Linked DNA regions of Homo sapiens: regions 2, 3, 4 and 5 are each linked to region 1. The links are contacts of gene promoters, found by promoter capture Hi-C in human tissues and cell types (Jung and others, 2019). All regions are on one chromosome and are shown on one strand. Each heading gives the region's core, a stretch centred on a gene start or on the middle of the fragment in contact. The rest is flanking DNA. Distances are from core to core; before and after follow the strand shown.

Region 1 (2,587 bases), core at 30-2,529:
GCAAGCACATAACTAGAGCTCAGAAACGATGAGCTATGTTGTGGCTCCAACTGGAGTCACCCTAGAAAGCTTTGCCCATGATGGCTGAACAAAGACTTCACCTTAAGAAGAATCTCAGAGTGCTGGCAGCAAAAGCTGAGCCTCTGACTGGTACTCCAGTGGAGGAGGCTGGGGGGGTACCAGTTTATCTACATTTGGACGGCCTGCTTCTCATCAGACCACAAGGCCCACTTCGGCAGTGGGATTTTCCCCAGAGGTCCTGAGGTCGGCAGAAAGCTGGTTATCAGTCTCCCACCTTCCTCCCAGTTCTAGAAGGTGACAGAATTAATGGTGGCACGGAAGACAGGTGCAATGAAACGTTTAGACACCAGCCTCAGGCTCACCCTGCCAGCCCTGTGATGGAAGAATGGACTGCAGGGAGTTGGGATAAGAGGGAGTGTTACCCTATTTCGAGGACGGGGAAGGTCCTTCACTTTGGTAATCCTCTGGAAGGGCTGCTCTGAAGCAGCCATTTTCAAAATAGAGGTCACGTGGTCACAACGAGCCTCAAGGTGGCCACCAAACCGCAGCCCCTGGCCCTTCCCAGGAGTATCTGGCGGACTTACCGAAGAGCAGCGGCTTGAGGCTGAGGGTTCGGATGAAGTGATCCCTGTCGGTGACCAGCTGGACCTTACGCTCGTGCCCCACCTAAGGAAAAGGCGCACAGCGGGCAGCTGGGGCGCCAGACCGCGCTGCCCAAGAAGGGCCAAGTCGCCCCGGCCCGGAGAGCGACAGCAGGCGAGTGAGTGGGAGCGCGCGGGACCGACGCAGAGCAGCGCCGGGGGCAGCGTGGGGACCCGGGCTGAGCGCCGGTCCTCTCGGGCTCAGCCGTGCAGGGCCTGGAGCGCGGCGGGGCAGGGAGGTCCTCACCTTGATGCCCTCCAGCCGGGTGAGGGGACCTAAGGTGGGCTCGGGCCCGGGGCCCTGGGCACGGTGTTGGGGCCCGGGATCGCTGCTTTCGTCGCCGTTGCTGTAGTGCACGAAGAGCAGCAGCGCCAGCACGTTACCCAGGTACAGGTGCACGAACACCATCAGCACCAGGAAGTAGGCGCGCGAGCAGATGCCGCGGGGCTTGCACAGCGGACGCACCGGTGCGTCCTCGCCGTCGCCCAGCCCGGCCGCCGCCTGAGCCTGGCAGTGGTCTGGCGGCGCCCACTGCGGCCTCGAGGCCTCCTCGGCCGCCGCGGTCTCAGGCCGCTGGCCTGTCACCGCCGCTGCCGCCATGGCACCCAGGTCGCGCGCGCGCCCAGGGGAGGGGCCGCGGGGGTGCCCGCGCTGCGCAGTCGCCCGGACAACGGCCGCCAGGCCCGCGAGCGCCGCGGTCACTAGGAGACGGTGCCTGGGGGTGCTGAGCCCGCCCGGAGCCGCCTGCGTCCGCGCCGGGCTCGGCCTTCCTGCGCCTTGAGCCCCAGCCCACGCTGGGGCTTCTCTTCCCAAGCTGGGTTGCCGTCGGGCAGAGCTGTACACTCTCCAAGTCAGAAGCCAAGGTCCCAAGCGTAGACGCGGACAAGAGCGGCACCATTAAGGCATACACTAGTGGGAGCTTCTCGGTGCCTGCGTGAAGACGCCCTCTTGCCTCCGGGAAAAGTATCGTCTGCATCTTCTTGCTCCAGGAGCGGGGGTGGGGAGCGCAGCGCGGAGGAGGCAGCGCTGAGATGACTCAACAGTGCGGCATTTGGGGGCGCCGCGGAGGCTGGGACTGCGTAAGCGGCGATAGGGTAGGACCCACAGCCTCCTCGCAGGCATTCTTGGAGCTCGGTTCCGCGGTCGGTCCGGATCTCCCGGGAAGTCTCGCCGGAGTCAGGCAGGCCTTAGGAAGAAGCTGCCTGATGTGCAAGGTTTCATAGGCCGTCAGAGGGGGCATCCTGGAGGAGCCCTGGCATCAGGAAAGTGAGCCCCCCATGGCAGCCCGCAGGAATGAACCAGTGCTCAGGTATATGGAACACTCCTTGCATCAAAGCTGGCACGTGTGAAGAGGCGGGAAGGGACTCTTCCATAACTGAGACACCATTACCTCAGAGAAAAATTAAACAGATTATCACCAAAAACGGGGGTGGGGGGAGGACATACCTACCAGTGGTCAAGTGCCAAGGCATCCCTGCTCTTCTAGAGCTGGTTATCCTCAGGAAGAGATTACTACACGCCCTCAGGGCAGAAGCTGACCCCCCTCCCCGAGGTGGACTTGCAGGCAAGAGCAACACTTTTAAGGCAGGTCACACTGGTGGTTTCTCCCTACCCTGGTTAAGACCCCCACTACCTCTACTCCCATCTCCTCTCCCTTCCCCATAGCAAAGCATAGTCTGCATTTTCTAGTCCCCTCAAGTCAAGGCAGGCCAGGGGCTCCAAGGGCAGGCCCACCTCTTTCTTCTAAGATTTTTTGTGTGTGTGTGACGGAGTCTCACTCTGTCGCCCAGGCTGGAGTGCAGTGGCGCGATCTTGGCTCACTGCAACCTCTGCCTTCCGGGTTCAAGCAATTCTCCTGCCTCAGCCTACCAAGTAGCTGGCATGCGCCACCATGGCGGGCCAATTTTTTTTTTTGTATTTTTAT
Region 2 (2,587 bases), core at 51-2,550, 240 kb after region 1:
GAGGCTGAGGCGGGCAGATCACGAGGTCAGGAGATTGAGACCATCCTGGCTAACACAGTGAAACCCTGTCTCTAATAAAAATACAAAAAATTAGCCAGGCATGGTGGCGGGCGCCTGTAGTCCCAGCTACTCGGGAGGCTAAGGCAGGAGAATGGCGTGAACCCGGGAGGCAGAGCTTGCGTGAGCTGAGATCACACCACTGTACTCCAGCCTGGGCAACAGAGCAAGACTCTGTCTCAAAAAAAAAAAAAAAAAAAGTTAATAAGTATGGAAAAAGAAGAATATTACTGTCTGTAAGATAGCTGGATTTGTTTTCTCTCTCTCTCTTTTTTTTTTTTTGAGTGAGTCTTGCTCTGTTGCCCAGGCTGGAATGCAGTGGTGCAATCTCAACTCACTGCAACCTCCAACCCCCTAGTTTCAATCGATTCTCGTGCCTCACCCTACTGAGTAGCTGAAGGTAGCTTGATTCTTTTTTATTTTAAGCTAGAGTGTCGCTCTTGTTGCCCAGGCTGGAGTGCAGTGGCGTGATCTCAGCTTACTGCAACCTCCGTCCCTGGGTTCAAGCGATTCTCCTGCCTCAGCCTCGCAAGTAGCTGGGACTATAGGCTCCCACCACCAAGCCCAGCTAATTTTTTGTACTTTTAGTAGGGACAGGGTTTCCCCATGTTGGCCAGGCTGGTCTGGAACTCCTGACCTCAGGTGATCCTCCTGCCTCTGCCTCCCAAAGTGCTGGGATTACAGGCATGAGCCACCGGCGCCCATGTGATAGCTTGATTCTTAATTAAAAGTAGATCTTTGAGACCAGCCTGACCAACATGGAGAAACCTCATCTCTACTAAAAATACAAAATTAGCCGGGCGTGGTGGCACATAGCTGTAGTCACAGCTACTCAGGAGGCTGAGGCAGGAGAATCGCTTGAACCCGGGAGGCGGAGGTTGCAGTGAGCTGAGATCGCACCATTGCACTCCAGCCTGGGCAACAAGAGCCAAACTCTGTCTCAAAAAAAAAAAAAGAAAAAAGTAGATCTGTTGTTTCAACTGAAAACAATAGTTTTGGCCTGGCATGGTGGCTCACGCTTGTAATTCCAGCACTTTGGGAGGCCGAGGCAGGCGGATCACGAGGTCAGGAGATCGAGACCATCCTGGCTAACATGGTTAAACCCCGTCTCTACTAAAAAACACAAAAAATATTAGCCAGGTGTGGTTGCGGGCACCTGTAGTCCCAGCTACTCAGGAGGCTGAGGCAGGAGAATGGCATGAGCCCAGGAGGCAGAGCTTGCAGTGAGCTGAGATCACACCACTGCACTCCAGCCTGGGCAACAGAGTGAGACTCTGCTCAAAAAAAAAAAAAAAAGAAAACAATAGTTTGAAATGTCTGTGTCATTTTACTTACAGTTTTTGGACTAGTGATGTTTGTAGATTTCTCAGATATTCATTGACACCTGCTATGATCACAGCATAGTGTTAGGTGCATAAGATCAGCAGCAGCATGGCACTGGGATATTGGGGATGGGTGGTTTGTCAGAAGTTCAGAGTCCTGGCTTTTCCCCAGATTTACTGAATCAGAATGTGCATTGCGAGAAAACCTGCGTAATACGGGAGCTGGTGTGTATGTGACAGTGTGATAAGTCCCTTCTGTTTTAGAGAAGGGACTAAGTGGGCACGAATATGGCTGCAACTCCAGAGAATACTACTGAAATTGGAAAGGGAAAGTTGGCTCAGATGAAACAGACCAACTTCAGAGCAACAGGGCAGAAGTGTAGAAGGAAGAAGGGTCAAACCGTGTAAGCTAGTGTAGCAGTTTTGTTTCTTTTAAAAATTAACCAAAAAGGAAATTATCTTTCTGCCTACAACATAAAGTGGTTCTTAGAGATTGAGACTAATTCTTACTAATAAATTCTAAACAATTATTTACTTAAATTATCACTTTGGTTAGCAGTTGGATTTGTTAAAAAAAAAAACCTCTAGATATTAATATAATGTAGTATATTATCTTAAATTTAGTTACTTAACTCTTATTTTAAAAAATGGGAGGGGGGAGTGCCTATAATCCCAGCACTTTGAGAGGCCGAGGCGGGCAGATTATGAGGTCAGCAGATGGAGACTATACTGGCGAACATGGTGAAACCCTGTCTCTGCTAAAAATACAAAAAAATTAGCCAGGCGTGGTGGCGGGCGCCTGTGGTCCCAGCTACTTGGGAGGTTGAGGCAGGAGAATGGCATGAACCTGGGAGGCAGAGCTTGAAGTGAGCGGATATTGCGCCACTGCACTCCAGCCTGGGCGACAGAGCGAGACTCCATCTCAAAAAAAAAAAAAAAAAAAAAAAAAAAAAAAAAAGGAGGAGGGAACCACTAACTTAAGGTACAAATAGTACTTAAAAAGAAATTTGTTGGCCAGGAGCAGTGAATCACTCCTGTAATCCGAGCACTTTGGGAGGCCAAGATGGGAGGATTGCTTGAGGCCAACAGTTGAAGGCTGCATGAGCTGTGATCATTCCTCTGAACTCCAGCCTTGGTGACAGAGTGAGACCCTGTCTCTTAAAAAAAAATGTGGGGGGCATGGGGGATTTTGTCACTGTAAAATGTTG
Region 3 (2,587 bases), core at 51-2,550, 210 kb after region 1:
TTGTTTTGTTTTTCAGTCCTGAATCACATACAATAAGTCTTCACCTAACATCATGAATCACATATAGTAAGTACTTCAACATTGTTGGTAGTCTTGGAAACTGCAACTTTAAGCAAAACAACCTATAATGAAACCTTTTTTTCCCCTCATCAGTGTTATAACTGTGTTATTTGAGGACCTTCTATACATTGTTTTGCTTAAAGTCACAGTTTTCAAGAACCTATCAACCACATTGAGGACTTACTGTATTTCATTTGGTTGTCATGTTGTTATTTTAGTCTCCTCTAACCTAGAAATGCTCCCTTTCCGCCCCTGTTATTCTATATCTCATGACACATGTGTTTGAAGAGTCCAGACTAGAAGAAGAAAAGTGACTCAGAACAAGCGGCTTCCAGCAGGCAACCCACAGGCTAGGTACAGATGTCTGTGTTTGGTCTGTATTGAACATGAAAATTTAAATTTATTGCCAGTGTTTAAATAGGAGATTTCTGGCAACACTGGGCTCACATTCCAGTCAGTGTGGGTAACACGTCAGTTGCAAGCCATCCTTTTTAGTATTTGTTAGCTTATACAGTATTCAACGCACGTGGAACTAAATACACTTTTTGGTGATACTCAATTATCTTGGTAGTACAGTCACTCTGATAGAACATAAAATCACATGGAATTATGCAGTCATAAAATTATTCTCTTTTCAGGTCTTCAGTCTACATTTCTCCAAAGAGAAAGTCTCTTTTTTTAATTGAACCTGGTATTCTTTAGTGACTTCCTAATAATTACTGATCTCCCTGACAGGGATGCTGGCCCCAGACTGAGACCATTGTTTCATTAGAATTTAATAGTATTATTTTCTTTTCATTATACTTATTGACATAGTTGATGTCTGGTTATGGCAGGCAATATTTGTAAGTAATTGTATGTGCTGTATGCAAATGAAGCAATATTAGCTGTCTTATAATATATCTCATTTATTGAGTATCTGTTGTTTCATAAATACTTTCCTAGGTTTTTTTCCTTTGGTCATAAAAATTGATGACCTGGAATCTTTGTTATACCCTTTTTACATATGAAGAAACTGGAGTTCACCGGACGTGGTGGCTCACGTCTGTAATCCTAGCACTTTGGGAAGCCAAGGTGGGTGGATTACATGAGGTCAGGAGTTCGAGACCAGCCTGGCCAACATGGCAAAACCCTGTCTCTACTAAAAATATAAAAATTTGCCAGGCGTGGTGGCACAGGCCTGTAGTCCCAGCTACTCAGGAGGCCGAGGCAGGAGAATCGCTTGAACTCGGGAGGTAGAGGTTGTGGTGAGCTGAGATCACACCACTGCACTCCAGCCTGTGTGACAGAGTGAGACTCCGTCTCCAGAACAAAAAAAAACAAACAAGATACTGAAGCTCAGTGAGGTTAAGTGACGTGTTTCGCTAGTCAAAAGTTGTGCTGTTCCAAAAGATAACCTCTAAGGCCATAGCAGCCCTTTAGATCTGATGCTCCTGTTAAGGTCAACAGCTGTAGGAAGGTGGGAGCATATGACTTTACACATGACATAGTGGAGCCATCAGGCAGGTGACAGTCATGTGGGTGTGGCTGGGAGAACATGGACCATAATTTAGATAATATTTTTGTGTAAATTTTGGGAAGCTTTTTCAAAACAATACTGCCTCAGAAGACTTGCCAGTTTGCTGTCTGCTGAGGTACATGGAGGTGCAAAGCTGAATGGTCCCAGGAAAGCATTTGTTTCAGACAACCTTTAGGTTTCTGCTTGAATGTGGGGACTTCTGTTACATAGTCACAAATTGAGATAATTATGGTCACTGCTTTTTTTCAGCATATGTAAAGGCTATTTTTTTCTTCTTGTGCATACCCTGCAGGAACAGCTTTCTCAAGTTCTCGATGCCATGTTTGAAAGGATAGTCAAAGCTGATGAGCATGTCATTGACCAAGGAGATGATGGAGACAACTTTTATGTCATAGAACGGTAGGAGATGGAGCTTTGAAATTGTGTGGCCACACTTAATCGGATTCATGACTCAGGGCAGATGCTTTATCCTATTCTGTATTCAGCCCAGAGAGGCTAAGGGCCAGGTGAACAAGCTTCCCAAAGCCTTGTGAGAGTCCACAGCTTGTCCCTCTCTACCAGTGCTGTCCTGAGTCCTCAGCACAACTCATATTTGAAGAGCAATCATTTAGAGTAGAAAGTCTCCTTTAGGCCAGGCGCAGTGGCTCATGCCTGTAATTGCAGCACTTTGGGAGGCCAAGGCCGGTGGATCGCTTGAGGTGAGGGGTTTGAGACCAGCCTGGCCAGTATGGTGAAACCCCGTATCTACTAAAAATACAAAAATTAGCCGGATGTGGCAGTGCATGCCTGTAATCCCAGCTGCTTGGGAGGCTGAGGCTGGAGAATCACTTGAACCTAGGAGGCTCACGCCTGTAATCCTAGCAAAGGTTGTTGCAGTGAGCTGAGACCCCGCCACTGCACTCCAGCCTGGACAACAGAGCAAGACTCCATCTCAAAAAAAAAAAAAGAAAGTCTCCTTTACAGTTAGTAAGGAGTGCAGGGTGTGCTTTATAAACATGTTATTTGCCA
Region 4 (2,587 bases), core at 37-2,536, 180 kb after region 1:
CTTCAAAAAATGATTTTTCATATTCCTTTTTCTGGTATTCTGGCTTATGCTGCCATTAACTCTTACATATACCTTTTTGAGCCACTTGAATTATTTCCTCAGTTTTGGTGCTGGAAGTGGCATTCTCTGGTCAGAGACTGAGCATTGCCTTGGCTTTTTCTGTCTTGTTTTGTAGAGAGAGTCCACAGATTAGGCTACTGGGAGAAAGGCACCCTGTACCTGCCTCTTTTCCACCATTATCTTAATAATATGGAATTTAAATGTAAAATAGTACTTCACATCATTTTATATGGCATTTCTTTTGGTTGTTAAAAAAATGAATGCTGTCCAGGCGCGGTGGCTCACACCCATAATCCCAGTACTTTGGGAGGTCTTGGCGGGTGGATCACGAGGTGAGGAGTTTGAGACCAGTCTGGCTAACATGGTGAAACCCCGTCTCTACTAAAAGTACAAAAAAATTAGCCAGGCACAGTAGCGCGCCCCTGTAGTCCCAGCTACTTGGGAGGCTGAGGCAGAGAATCACTTGAACCCAGGAGGTGGAGATTTCAGTGAGCCAAGATCACGCTACTGCACTCCAGCCTGGGCAACAGAGTGAGACTCTGTCTCAAAAAAAAAAAAGAATGCTTTCCAAATATGAGAAATCTATTTGTATTTTCTTATATGGTACTAGTTTGGTAATATTTTGCCCTTTTATCTGGTATAGTCCATATTATTTTAAAAATAAGTTTGGGTAAACTTTCTATCCAAGTTTTTGACCTTTTGAAATTTTCAATGCAAAATTTCCCTAGGTGGTTATGCTATTTTTTTAATTGAGTTAGAGATGTTAATATATGACTGATAACCTCAAACACTGCTGGACACATAGGCACTCAGTAAATATTTATTGAATATGCACATCATCTTTTTTAAAAAAAAAACAATGATTGTTCCTGAGAAGGCTCCCCTTTTTTCCATAGAGCTGGTAAATATATTTTATGAAAGTTTTTCTTAAAGTGTTTGACTTTTTGATAACTCTGGAATTTATTTGGGAGTACAGTGGAATGTTAATGTGTTTTAAAATTGCTAGGCAAATGGTATGTTCTTTCATATTTCCTTGTTTTAGGAAGGTTTCTTGATTTGAAATTGTCATCTGGCCTATTATAGGGCTAGGAATTGCTTTTCTATCCCTCAATCCTTGTCTTTGAGAAAATCGGCTCATTTATGTTTTCAGAAAGCGTTTATCATTCCACATAAAAATCTGTTGAAAGGAGGTTGAAGAATATGTTATGTTAAGAGAGTCAATATCCTGAGAGTAGGGATTAAGGTTAGTTTGATACCCATGAGCTATTATCTTCCATTTTTGTTCATGTCTGCCCTGCACCTTTTTTTCCTCTGAAAGATTAGTTAAATCCCTTGACATCTGTAGGATAGGTCTGGGAGATGGAGACTATAGTGATACCTCCTCCTGAGGTCACAGTTGGTGTTAGTTTGTTTGGCCCTCTGCCATTGTTGTTCAAATCTTGAACCTTGTAGAAGACTCAGACAAGTACATGGTATTATCCCTCCTCCTTAGATTTTATAATCTTAGGATTTAAAACCTTTTCATATCATTGAAATGTTAAATGAAAATAAAAGATTTTTCAAATAATTCAATAGGATGATACAGGAGAGAAAGTATCCTTTAATAATACGTAACATTTTTTAAGTGCAGACCGTGTGCCAGGTGCACAGTTATAAGGACTTTCTAAATGCCTTCCTTGTATTGTTGAATATAATCTTCAAAATAACACTTTGAGTGAGGCCCATACCATGATTATCCCCAATTTACAGACAAGGAAACTGGGAACAAAGCAGAGGTTAAGTAACTTGCAATAGGTGAGGTGAGCATATGCCCATAGGTAGCATGGATCCTAAGTACCACCCTTGCTATCTCTAAGATTCTTTCTTGCACCCTCTGGAACTCTTGGTTAGTCTTCAGCTAAATCCGCCAAATTCTCACCCTGTTCTCTCAGTGCAGCTTTCACTTTCCAGCTGTAGCTGAAGCTTGGCTTGCCCTGTAGGCTTCTCAAACAATGGCTCTGTCCTCTTCTACCTTCCTTGTAACACTGACAGGAAATGGGTGAATGTCTCTATTGATTCTCTTGGCTGCTTCCAGAGCATTCTCTCTCCCTTCTCCCTGAAAGCTTCTTAAAACTTCGCATTATGGCTGGCCATCGTGGCTCACACCTGTAATCCCAGCACTTTGGGAGACTGAGGTGCGAGAATTGCTTGAGCCTAGGAGTTTGAGACCAGCTGGGGCAACACAGTGAGACCCCATCTCTCAAAAAATTAAAAAAAAATAGCTGGGCATGATGGTGCACACATGTAGTCCTAGCTATTCAGGAGGCTGAGTTAAGAAGATTGCTTGAGCCTGGGAGGTCAATGCTGCAGTGAGCTGTGATCGTTCCACTGTACTCCAGCCTGGGTGACAGAGTGAGATTCTATCTCAAAAAAAAAATTAAAATTAAACTTAACATTATTATATTTTACCAGCCACTGCTTCTCCTTGTTTTAGTCATCTAACAATCCCCAGGTTGTTCCTTCTTATTTCCACATATAGATGATTCTT
Region 5 (2,587 bases), core at 60-2,559, 150 kb after region 1:
CCCCATTGTCTCAGCCCCAAATCTCCTTAAGCTGATAAGCAACTTCAGCAAAGTCTCAGGATACAAAATCAATGCACAAAAATCACAAGCATTCTTATATACCAATAACAGAAAAACAGAGAGCCAAGTCATGAGTGAACTCCCATTCACAATTGCTTCAAAGAGAATAAAATACCTAGGAATCCAACTTACAAGGGACGTGAAGGACCTCTTCAAGGAGAACTACAAACCACTGCTCAATGAAATAAAAGAGGATACAAACAAATGGAAGAACATTCCATGCTCATGGATAGGAAGAATCAATATAGTGAAAATGGCCATACTGTCCAAGGTAATTTATAATTCAGTGACAAGTTTTTGTATTATATCGTCATTCTTTGTCATCTTTGATACCTTTTTCAAAATTGAGTTGACTTAAAATCTTTGTACCCTATTTTATTGGTATTTAAGTATTTTTGGTGTCTCAGGTGGCTGCGCTACATAATTATAGAAATCACTACAAGGTGGATTTCTATTTACAAATAATAAATGAAAAATACATTGCATACAATGAGATACTTCATACCTGTTAGGATGGCTGGTATTAAAAACAGAAAATAGCCAAGATGTGGAGATGTTGGAACCCTTGTGCATTACTCATGGGAATGTAAAATGGTTCAGCTGCTGTGGAAAACAATTTGGTGGTTCCTCAAAAAGTAGTTAAACATAGAATTATCATAGGTAGAGCAATTTCACTCCTAGGTATATAACCAAAACACCTTTTTTTTTTTTTTTTTTTTTTTTTGAGACAGAGTCTTGTTCTGTCACCCAGGCTGGAGTGTAGTGGCGGGATCTTGGTTCATTGCAACCTCTGCCTTCTGGTTCAAGCAATTCTCCCACCTCAGCCTTCCGAGTAGCTGGGATTACAGGCATGCGCCACCACACTTGGGTAATTTTTTGTATTTTTAGTAGAGATGGTGTTTCACCATATTGACCAGGCTGGTCTCAAACTCCTGACCTTGTGATCTGCCTGCCTCAGCCTCCCAAAGTGCTGGGATTACAGGTGTGAGCCACCGTTCCCGGCCTACCCAAAATAATTTTAAGCAGGGAGTTAAACAGATAGTTATACTCCAGTGCTCATTGCAGCATTATTTACAGTAGTCAAAAGGTGAAAACATGGCACGTGCCTGTAATCCCAGCACTGGGGGGCCGAGGCGGGCGGATCACCTGAGGTCAGGAGTTTGAGACCAGCCTGACTAATATGGTAAAACCCCATCTCTACTAAATTAAAAAAAAAAAATTAGCTGGGTGTGGTGGTGTGCGCCTGTAATCCCAGCTACTCGGGAGGCTGAGGCAGGAGAATCTTTTGAACCCAGGAGGTGGAGGTTTCAGTGAGCGGAGATCACGCCATTGCACTCCAGCCTGGGCAACAAGAGCGAAACTGTCTCAAAAAAAAAAAAAAAAAAAAAGGTGGGCCAGGCCCTGTGGCTCATGCCTGTAATCCCAGCACTTTGGGAGGCCGAGGTGGGCGGATCACGAGGTCAGGAGATTGAGACCATCCTGGCTAACACAGTGAAATTCCGTCTCTACTAAAAATACAAAATATAAGCCGGGCGTGGTGGCGGGTGCCTGTAGTCCCAGCTACTCGGGAGGCTGAGGCAGGAGAATGGCGTGAACCCAGGAGGCAGAGCTTGCAGTGAGCCGAGATTGTGCCACTGCACTCCAGCCTGGGCGAGAGAGTGAGACTCCGTCTCAAAAAAAAAAAAAAAAAAAAAAAAAAAGGTGAAAACAAACCAGGTATCCAGGTATACATCCATAAATGAATGGATAAACAAAATATGGTATATATATACATAAGACCGAGTGTTGCTCTGTCTCCCAGGCTGGAGTGCAGTGGCACGATCCTGCTCACTGCAACCTCCACCTCCTGGGTTCAAGCAGTTCACTTGCCTCAGCCTCCCGAGTAGCTGGGATTACAGGCGTGTGCCACCATGCCTGGCTAGTTTTTGTATTTTTAGTAGAGACGGGGTTTCACCATGTTAGCCAGGCTGGTCTCAAACTCCCAACCTCAGGTGATCCACCCGTCCCGCCTCGACTTCCCAAAGTGATGGGATTACAGGCATGAGCCACCATACCTGACCATCCTTAAGAAGGAATGAAATTCTTATTCATGTTACAGCATTGAAAATATTATCCTAAATGAAATGAGCCAGATACAAAAGGACAAATAATGTATGATTCCACTTACAGAAGGTAACCAGAGTAGCTAAATTCATAGGGACAGAAAGTAGAAGAGAGCTAACCGAGGGCTTGGGGGAAGGTGTAATAGGGTGTTATTGTTTAATAGGTACAGAGTTTCAGTTTGGGATAATGAAAAAGTTCTGAAGTTGGATAATGGTGATGGTTGCACAATGTATGTACTTAATGACACTGAATTGTACACTTAAAATGGTGAAGTGGCACATTTTATGTACATCTTACCACAATTTAAAAAGGAAGAAAAAATGAATTGTATACCCAATGACATTAGAATAAGTCTACACTACTTAAATTAGAAATAGGATATGTTTCAACTCCAGAGCCAATAAAAAAAAGAACAAGAAGTATC

The links. The method cuts DNA at HindIII sites, captures the fragments that hold promoters and counts their contacts. A contact is called where the count stands out against the background at its distance.
Region 2: a fragment that was not itself captured here is called in contact with the fragment with the promoter of P4HTM in region 1 in 2 of the 25 tissues and cell types used here (IMR-90 fibroblasts and lymphoblastoid cells).
Region 3: a contact is called between a fragment that was not itself captured here and the fragment with the promoter of P4HTM in region 1, in 1 of the 25 tissues and cell types used here (hippocampus).
Region 4: a contact is called between a fragment that was not itself captured here and the fragment with the promoter of P4HTM in region 1, in 4 of the 25 tissues and cell types used here (IMR-90 fibroblasts, aorta, mesendoderm cells and 1 more).
Region 5: a fragment that was not itself captured here is called in contact with the fragment with the promoter of P4HTM in region 1 in 1 of the 25 tissues and cell types used here (heart right ventricle).

Annotation. Positions count from the first base shown.
Region 1 is chr3:48,988,933-48,991,519 of GRCh38, reverse strand. It overlaps P4HTM (prolyl 4-hydroxylase, transmembrane), which reads right to left and starts at 1,279. Exons shown (of 9, transcript NM_177939.3): 1 at 910-1,279; 2 at 606-687. The coding sequence starts at 1,263. It overlaps LOC124909376 (a long non-coding RNA gene), which reads left to right and starts at 1,648. Exons shown (of 2, transcript XR_007095903.1): 1 at 1,648-1,972. RefSeq lists enhancers at 307-868, 1,526-1,685, 1,433-1,995, 1,996-2,559 and a silencer at 1,036-1,415. The HindIII fragment of the contact is 19,056 bases long and covers 1-2,587 here.
Region 2 is chr3:48,752,667-48,755,253 of GRCh38, reverse strand. The region is part of intron 9 of PRKAR2A (protein kinase cAMP-dependent type II regulatory subunit alpha); the gene reads left to right. Among named protein-coding and RNA genes, the nearest start is that of IP6K2, 37 kb to the right of the region's middle. The HindIII fragment of the contact is 7,790 bases long and covers 1-2,587 here.
Region 3 is chr3:48,782,377-48,784,963 of GRCh38, reverse strand. PRKAR2A (protein kinase cAMP-dependent type II regulatory subunit alpha) reads left to right here. Exons shown (of 11, transcript NM_004157.4): 5 at 1,872-1,978. Among named protein-coding and RNA genes, the nearest start is that of PRKAR2A, 64 kb to the left of the region's middle. The HindIII fragment of the contact is 6,575 bases long and covers 1-2,587 here.
Region 4 is chr3:48,804,809-48,807,395 of GRCh38, reverse strand. All of the region lies in intron 2 of PRKAR2A (protein kinase cAMP-dependent type II regulatory subunit alpha), which reads left to right. Among named protein-coding and RNA genes, the nearest start is that of PRKAR2A, 42 kb to the left of the region's middle. The HindIII fragment of the contact is 5,640 bases long and covers 1-2,587 here.
Region 5 is chr3:48,839,741-48,842,327 of GRCh38, reverse strand. The region is part of intron 1 of PRKAR2A (protein kinase cAMP-dependent type II regulatory subunit alpha); the gene reads left to right. Among named protein-coding and RNA genes, the nearest start is that of PRKAR2A, 6.8 kb to the left of the region's middle. The HindIII fragment of the contact is 5,871 bases long and covers 1-2,587 here.